Linked DNA regions of Homo sapiens: region 1 is linked to region 2. The links are contacts of gene promoters, found by promoter capture Hi-C in human tissues and cell types (Jung and others, 2019). All regions are on one chromosome and are shown on one strand. The core of a region is centred on a gene start or on the middle of the fragment in contact, and the rest is flanking DNA. Distances in the headings are between cores, read along the strand shown. Region 1 has its middle 6.2 kb from the start of ZNF483. Region 2 holds the start of FKBP15 (FKBP prolyl isomerase family member 15).

Region 1 (3,702 bases), core at 876-3,375, 1.7 Mb before region 2:
TGCACTGCAGCCTAGATGACAGAGTGAGACTCTGTCTCAAAAAAAAAATTAAATTAAAAATTTTAAAGAAAGAGTACAATTTGATGAGTTGCCACTGCACCTGGCCGATGAATTCTGACATACTTGTACACTCATGAAACCATCATTGCAATAGTATAATGAACATATCTGTCACCTCCAAAAGTTTTCTGATGTCCCTTTGTAATTTCTCCCTCTCTCCACCTCCTCCCTTTACAGGCAACAACTGATCTATCACTACAGATTAGTTTATATTTTCTCAAATTTTCTATAAATGGAATGTTATACTATACGTTTTTCATTCCTTTCACTTTGAGATTTCATCCCTGTTGTGGCATGTATCAATAGTGCATTCCTTTTTATCAGTGGATAGTGCAGTATTCCATCGTGTGGATGAACCACTATTGTTTATCCACTCACCATTTGCCGGACATTACAGATAGTTACAGGTTTTGACTATTTTAAATAAAGCTGCTGTGAACAATCATATCTAAGTCTTTGTGTGGAAATATGCTTTCATTTCTATTGAGGTAAAATTCACACTTTTAAGGTGCACAATTCCATTTGACAAATCTATACAATGCAATATTCAACTGGACAGGTAAATACAATCATGTAACCACCATTTTCATTATCCCCCAAATTCCCTTGGGCACTTCTCTACACTCCCATCCCCTGGCAACCACTTATCTGATTTCTGTCCCTATAATTCTGTTTTTTTTAGAATGTCATAAATGGAATTATACAGGGTCTACCTTCTTGCATCTCGCATCTCTCACCTAGCATACTGCTTTTGAGATTCAGCCACATCATTGCATGTATCTGTTACCAAATCAAACTGGGTCTGCTTGCCCAGCAAGTAAGGCCAAACATCCACACTGAGGTTTGTAGCTGGAGAAAGGAGGGTGTTTATCTCCAGGGCACCAAGCAAGGAGAACTGAGCAGCTCATGCTTAAGACCCAACCCCTTGGATGGCTTATATGTAAGAGTTTTTAAAGGCAGGGAGCAGAAGTTACAGGCACTATCATAAATCAATATATGGAGGCTACACATTGAGTTGACTTAAAAAGGCTAGACCTCTCAAAACAGAAGCCCAGAAGTCATAGGTGGATTCAAAGGTTTTCTGATTTCTGATTGGTTAAGGAGGTAAAGCTTTAATTTTGTTTTAAAGTGGCTAGACGCAGTGGCTCACGCCTGAAATCCCAGCACGTCGGGAGGCCAAGGCAGGATGGATCACCTGAGGTCAGGAGTTCAAGACCAGCCTGACCAACATGGAGAAACCCCGTCTCTACTAAAAATACAAAATTAGCTTGGTGCGGTGGCGCATGCCTGTAATCCTAGCTACTTGGGAGGCTGAGGCAGGAGAATCGCTTGAACCCAGGAGGCGGAGGTTGTGGTGAGCTGAGATCGCGCCATTGCACTCCAGCCTGGGCAATAAAAGCAAAACTCCGCCTCAAAAAAAAAAAAATTTTTTTTTCTAAAGTCTAAAAATTTGGGATCAGCAGAAAAGAATGTTAGCTCTGGCCCATGGGTATGACTTCCTTTATGCCTCTCAGGAAGAAATTTAGAACAAAGAAGAGCAGTCAGAATTTAGTCCTCAGTTCCCGCTTATCTGAATTCTACAAGACAGCAGATCTGTTTGGTGGGGGTCTGAGTTTCTGAAAAACAACTCAGGAACATATGTTATGATGTTATCTTTAGTTTCTATAGGGAACCAAATATCTTGTGATTCTAACTTCCTTGGCTATTGTTTTACGCTACTATTACCCCCTTCTTGCTTATCAAGTGGTTCACTTACTTCTCAGGGCTAGCTAAGTGCCTGGAATTTCCCTTGAAGGAACTCAAGATTTTCCTTTATTTTCATGTGTGAGGGGGGCCTGCAGGCCCATAAGAGGGGTCCCTGCTCCCTCATCAGTAGTTCATTCCTTTCTGTTGCTGAGTAGTATTTCATTGTATGAATGTAAGACAATTTATTTATCTGTTCACTAGTTGCTACACATTTGAGTTATTTGCAGTTTTTGGCAAGTGTTAATAAAACATACATAAGCATTTCCAGACAGATATTTTTGTGGACATGATTTCATTTTTCATGAGTAAATACCTAGAAGTGGGATTGCCGGGTCATATAGTAAGTATATATTTAACTTTATAAGTACATTATTATTATCATTATTATTATTATTATTTTGAGACAGAGTCTTGCTCTGTCACCCAGGCTGGAGTGCAATGGGGTGATCTCGGCTCACTGCAACCTCCGCCTCCCGGGTTCAAGCGATTCTCCTGCCTCAGCCTCCCAAGTAGCTGGGATTACAGGTGCCTGCCACCACACCTGGCTAATTTTTTGTACTTTTAGTAGAGATGGGGTTTCGCCATGTTGGCCAGGCTGGTCTTGAACTCCTGACTTCAGGTGATCCACTTGCCTCAGCCTCCCAAAGTGCTAGGATTACAGGTGTGAGCCACAGCACCCGGCCATAAGTACGTTATTTATTAAGCTTTGATGCTTTGATTTCGCTTGTCCTTTAATCTCTCTACTTTCTTCTTTTTCATTCGTTCATTCTTTTTTTTCTTTTTTTGTTTTAGAGACAGGGTCTCACTCTGTCATCCAGGCTGGAGTGCAGTGGCACAATCAGAGCTCACTGCAGTCTCAACTTCCTGGGCTCAAGAGATCCTCCTTCCTCAGCCTCCTGAGTATATGGAACCACAGTCATGCACCACCATGCCCGGCTATTTTTAAAATTTTTTATAGAGATGGGTCTTGCTATGTTGCCCAGGCTGGTCTCAAACTCCTGGCTCAAGTGATCCACCCACCTCGGCCTCTCAAAGTGTTGAGATTACAGGCGTGAGCCACCACACCTGGCTCATTCTTTCTTTTTTTAAGAGACAGAGTCTCACTATGTTGCCCAGGCTGGTGTCGAACTCCTGGCCTCTGGCAATCCTCCTGCATCAGCCTCCTGAGAAGCTGGGACTATAGGCGCATGCCGCCATGCCCAGCTCTCTTTTCTTCTTTTATGTTAACTAACTCTTATCTTCATCTTCCTTACCTAAATTGGACTCCATCATAAATCATTTTAAACAAACTTTTGCTCATATCCTCAACTGGTTATCCCACTGTCCTCCTGTCAAACTTATGCTACAACCCCCATCCCCTGGATCAATTCAACTGTCCCTCTTCCCTGTACCTATTCTGGAGCTATGTTGTGTACCTTGAGAAAAATCATTTAATGTACATATTGATGTAACATAAAATGGGGGTTTCTAACCTCAAATGGGCCCTTAACACTGCAGGGAAATCCTTCTGTGTTTTTGTGATCAACTCATATTCTCCCAGCAGCCATCTACTCTTTTTTTTTTTTGAGATGGAGTCTCGGCTCTGTCACCCAGGCTGGAGTGCAATGGCGTGGTTTCAGCTCACTGTAACCTCCACCTCCCAGGTTCAAGTGATTCTCCTGCCTCAGCCTCCCAAGTAGCTGGGACTACAGGCGCGTACCACTATGCCCGGCTAATTTTTTTTTTGTATTTTTAGTAGAGACAGGGTTTCACTATGTTGGCCAGGCTGGTCTCGAACTCCTGACCTCGTGATCTGCCTGCCTTGGCCTCCCAAAGTGCTGGGATTACAGGTGTGAGCCAGCACGCCCGGCCAAACCTAATCTACTCTTATCAAGCTTCAGATCCCACCCGTATCTC
Region 2 (4,244 bases), core at 923-3,422:
TACTATTACTTCCCACAACGGTGAGGAATGGGCTAAAACAAACTAACAAACAAAAACAAGGCTCCTGATTACTACTTCTAGATTAATAGTAAACTCTAAGAGGCCTAGAAACTCAGAAGGCAGATTATCAGATACTCCTACTTCTATTAGGCTTGAATATCCTTCATGAAATCAAGCAAATCATGTGTTTAAATCAAGAGACTTGGAACTTAAGCAAGTATACTTACAGTAATATATGGCTATAAAAGAGGAAGTGAAAAGTAGCTGCAGTATTCACTGTCATATGTTCTACTTCCTTAGAGAAAACCAAAAAAGGAATAGCTAAATCAGAGAATTGTGGTGAAACTTTCTGTATTCTCAGTGTTAAATTTGATTTGGTTTTCCTGATAACTGTGGGGAACAAAAATAAACTATAACTTTCCTCAGTATGTCTTTTACCATCAAATTAGCTGTTGTCTATGTCTAGGAGCACAGTCACATGCCTAGAATTCAAGTGTCTCAGATCCTTGAGAAGCCTGCTCAGGAAAAAAGAATAGTTGAGCCACCAAGAATTTATCTCTGGCCAGGAATCTGGAAAAGAGCACATGGCTGTCATTACCTATCCCATAATTTTCAGTCAGCTTGGACTGATTGTTGCATGAAAATTGGGAGCCCTAACATTACAGACTTCTCCCAAATACTTTCACATAGTGAAGAATGCGAATTTAAAGTGGAATAGGGAAAAAAGGAACAAAAGCACAGCTTAACTGTAAAATAACTGAGAAACGGAAAGAACTCAAAGTGGAACTAAGTGAATGCAGGCCATCTAAAGACGGGGTAGGAAGGGAACAGAGTGGTGAGAGTGAAAAAGACTAAAAGGTAGGTAATATAGAGCTAGTCAGTGTAAATCAAAAATTCCTACTTAAGGACAAAAGAAGGCCAGTGTCATTTTATGGTCATTCATCTATTAACTCATTTGTTTATGTATTGTCTATGACTACTCTCACCCTACAAGGCAGAACTGAGTATTTGTGGTTGCAATAGAAACCACATGGCCCAACAGATCTGGAAGCAACTTAAGGGCAGGCACAGCAGTTTAATCATTTTTGTAACCTCTTAGCATTTAGCAGAATAAGGGGCATATGTGGTGCATTTGTCATTTTTCCAGTACATTCTTCAGCACGCACAAAATTTGTTAAGCATATGTTCAAAGAAAAGCTCTGCAATGATCAGAGCTTGGTAGCTCACAAGTTTGGAGGAAGTCAAGCTGTCCACTGGCACAACACAATGGAAAAGGCTAAACTGACTACTAAAAGAGACAAAACCCTTCCTCTCTTTAAAGATTTCTATTCCAGGCTGGTATATATTAATATAATGCTTGGGGAAACTGGAGAATGACAGAAGTCTGTTACGTTGGTTTTAAGCTTTAAGCTTTACAAAGTGCAATTTCGCAGCTATTATTCATTCAACAGCCACTTCCTGAGCACTCACTATGTGCTAGGTACCATGCTGCATGCTAGACAGAAATGAACACCATAAGCAGTCCCTGTCCGGTGAGGACTCATAATCTAATAGGTGCGGGGTATAAGAATAGAGGCAAACACACCTAGCTGCAGGAATAAGGAAGAGAAAGCAATTCATTCTGCCTGAGGTTGCAGAAGGAAAAGCATCCAAAACGTGACATCCGAGCTGGGCCTTGAAGAATGCTAGAGCTGACCCACCAAGGCCTGGTTCTAAAGTGTCTTCGCCTTCTCCATGGAGAAAAGAAGTCTCACATCAGCCCCAGCTGACTCCTATAAAAATTCTGAGGCAGGAAGTCTCATCAGCAATCATTCCCATTTCACCGGAGAAATTGTGACCCAGAATGCAAAAGGCAAACCCAGGGCTATCTTCCCGCCAAGAGAGATGCCGGGTCCCGAACCTCAGATCGGCAGGGTCAGCACAGTTGCAAGTTCTGCCCAGATTCTGAGAGGTGTAGAGCACCGGAATGTGGCAAGGGTCTCCCCCCGGAAGTTGGGAAAAGGCCTGAGAAGAGATCGACCCCCCTCCAACAATCCGCCGGTATCTCTCAGCCACGCCCTCCAGCGCATACTTCTCAGTCACTCACCCGCCGCTCGGCGAGAGGAAATCGGTGTCGTCCTCGTCCCCCGCACCGAACATTGCGTTGGCTTTCACCGGGTTGCGGGGAGGAAGCTGGGTATTCCCAGAGTCCCAGGGCCTGTCACCGCCGACGTCGTAAAATGCCGCGGCGGCGTGCTGCTTTCCGGCAGGGCGAACTCCAGCACGGTCTCTGGACCGAAAGTAGACTGGGCTCTGGAGAAGGTGGGGCAAAGGCAAATGAGAGGCTCGCGCGGGCACGAGCGCCGAGTGACGTCAGGCCTCTCCAGCCCGCAGCGGGGCGGAGCTTCACAGCCCCTTGCAGGGATTGGTCGGTAATGCTAGGGGGCGGGAGGGGGCGGGAAATCCTCGGCCTCGGTGGCGGTGGTGGACACGTCGAGCCGGGTAGAAGTGGAGGGGCCGTTCGAAGAGTCGTGAGGGGGTGACGGGTTAAGATTCGGAGAGAGAGGTGCTAGTGGCTGGACTTGACCTGGAAAGGTAAGGCTTCTCTCGGCCCCTCTTTCGCACCCCTGTGCATGGGTACCGTCCTTTTCCCAGCGGGACAAGGACCTTCCTCGCCGCTTTCCTCAGCTCCGCGGAAGGAGAAAGAGCTCGGGACTGGAGGGTTAAAGACTGGGGCTTCGGCCCGGCCCCTGCAGTGGCATAGCCAGAGTGACCTTGGGCCGGGGTGCTCGGTGCCTCAGTTTCCCCGTGTATGCAACCGGCCATTTGTCCAGTTCTTCCATGTGCCTGCTGGTCCAGAAGATTTTAGAGCTCAGAGGCCATGGATTTCAATCCCGGCCTCCTCGTAATCTCAGAATTTACAGATAGGGAGACGAAGGAACTAAGCACCCGGGTGACTAGTCCGAGGTCACAAAGAGTAAAGGGCAGACTGAGACTGGATTCCTCGTCCTTTGATTCAGGACATAGTGAGCTAGTGGGTGAACAAGAACCTTATCAGCCCTTAAGCACTGTGTGCCCTTACAGAGTGACTATTGAAAGACTGTAGCATACACCTCGAGGAAAGTCCCCTTTCTAGAGTCCACCTGTATTCTACGCGGATGAGGTGCAGAAGAGCTAAGATATTCTGGCGGTGGGTGATGGAAAGGAGGATACTTTGGAGGCAGACACATCCCCACCCCAACTTTGGCGTGGGTTTCCCTGGGTCTTCCTGCGACAGCCCTAAATCAACATCAATTGTGGCGGACTCCTCTGCCTCCAGTTTCCACCCTATCTGTATCTTACATAAGTATTTCTTTGGTTAACCTGGTATCATTCTCGAAACAATCCTGGGGTAGTCCTGGCTTAGACAAGGTGTGGCTAAGGAGATAGTGTCCCAGCGTAGCGTCCACAGACTCACTGGAGTTCTTGGGCTTCCCCTCACAGTCAGGTTGGTACTACAGGTGTCCCTTACGTGAATGTTTCAATCTGTCAGTATGAAATTGAAATGAAATGATTGGTAGCTCCCTCCCAGAGAACTTTGCACCTCCTGGCAAAGATGTTAAAGCAGCGAAGGCTCACAGTTGGAATGATGCAACTGGAATCTAAGCACTAGAACCGGAACTGGAACTAGAATCTAAGGACTAGCACTAGAACTGTTGCAGTAGCTCTGTTTAGTGTGTGAACTTGGCTACCTCTTGGAGGTGTTGGGGGAGTAACTGGATTAAGTACCATGGCACTTTCTAATCCCTCTCCCCAACACCGGTCACTGTGATTGCAGCACTGAAACATCTAAATGTTTAACAGAAAGAGCTTGCTAGCCCCTGGCTTACATTATCTATGGTATTTTTAACATGGAATGAATACTTAAAGTCACTTGCAAAGCAGTCTCACTGCAGAATCTTTCTAGGTGTTTATGACATGTCCTTCCAGCCTTTTCTTTAAAAAAAAAAAATGGCCAAGGGAATATTTGAACTCTTATCTTGTATTCTTGGGTGGAGCTGATTTTATCCTGGATGTTTAAGTAGCTTTTGTAGGTACTCAGGAATCCTAAAATCAATAGCCTTTTTGGTGATTGGAACATCACGAACATGCATACGCAGATTATCACTGTAGAAACACAGCTGCTGATTCTCATTAGCAGTATGAGGAGGAGGAAGATGATGGTGAGTCTTGCCAGGCTTTGAACTGCAGGACTGGGTGCACCTAAAAAAAAAAAAAAAGAAAGC

Evidence for each region. The method cuts DNA at HindIII sites, captures the fragments that hold promoters and counts their contacts. A contact is called where the count stands out against the background at its distance.
Region 1: a fragment that was not itself captured here is called in contact with the fragment with the promoter of FKBP15 in region 2 in 1 of the 25 tissues and cell types used here (aorta).

What each region holds. Positions count from the first base shown.
Region 1 is chr9:111,517,103-111,520,804 of GRCh38, forward strand. No RefSeq gene overlaps it. Among named protein-coding and RNA genes, the nearest start is that of ZNF483, 6.2 kb to the right of the region's middle. The HindIII fragment of the contact is 5,739 bases long and covers 1-3,702 here.
Region 2 is chr9:113,219,105-113,223,348 of GRCh38, forward strand. FKBP15 (FKBP prolyl isomerase family member 15) reads right to left here and starts at 2,173. Exons shown (of 28, transcript NM_015258.2): 1 at 2,087-2,173. The coding sequence starts at 2,139. SLC31A1 (solute carrier family 31 member 1) reads left to right here and starts at 2,440. Exons shown (of 5, transcript NM_001859.4): 1 at 2,440-2,574. RefSeq lists enhancers at 1,972-2,101, 2,212-2,321, 3,162-3,351. The HindIII fragment of the contact is 7,733 bases long and covers 1-4,244 here.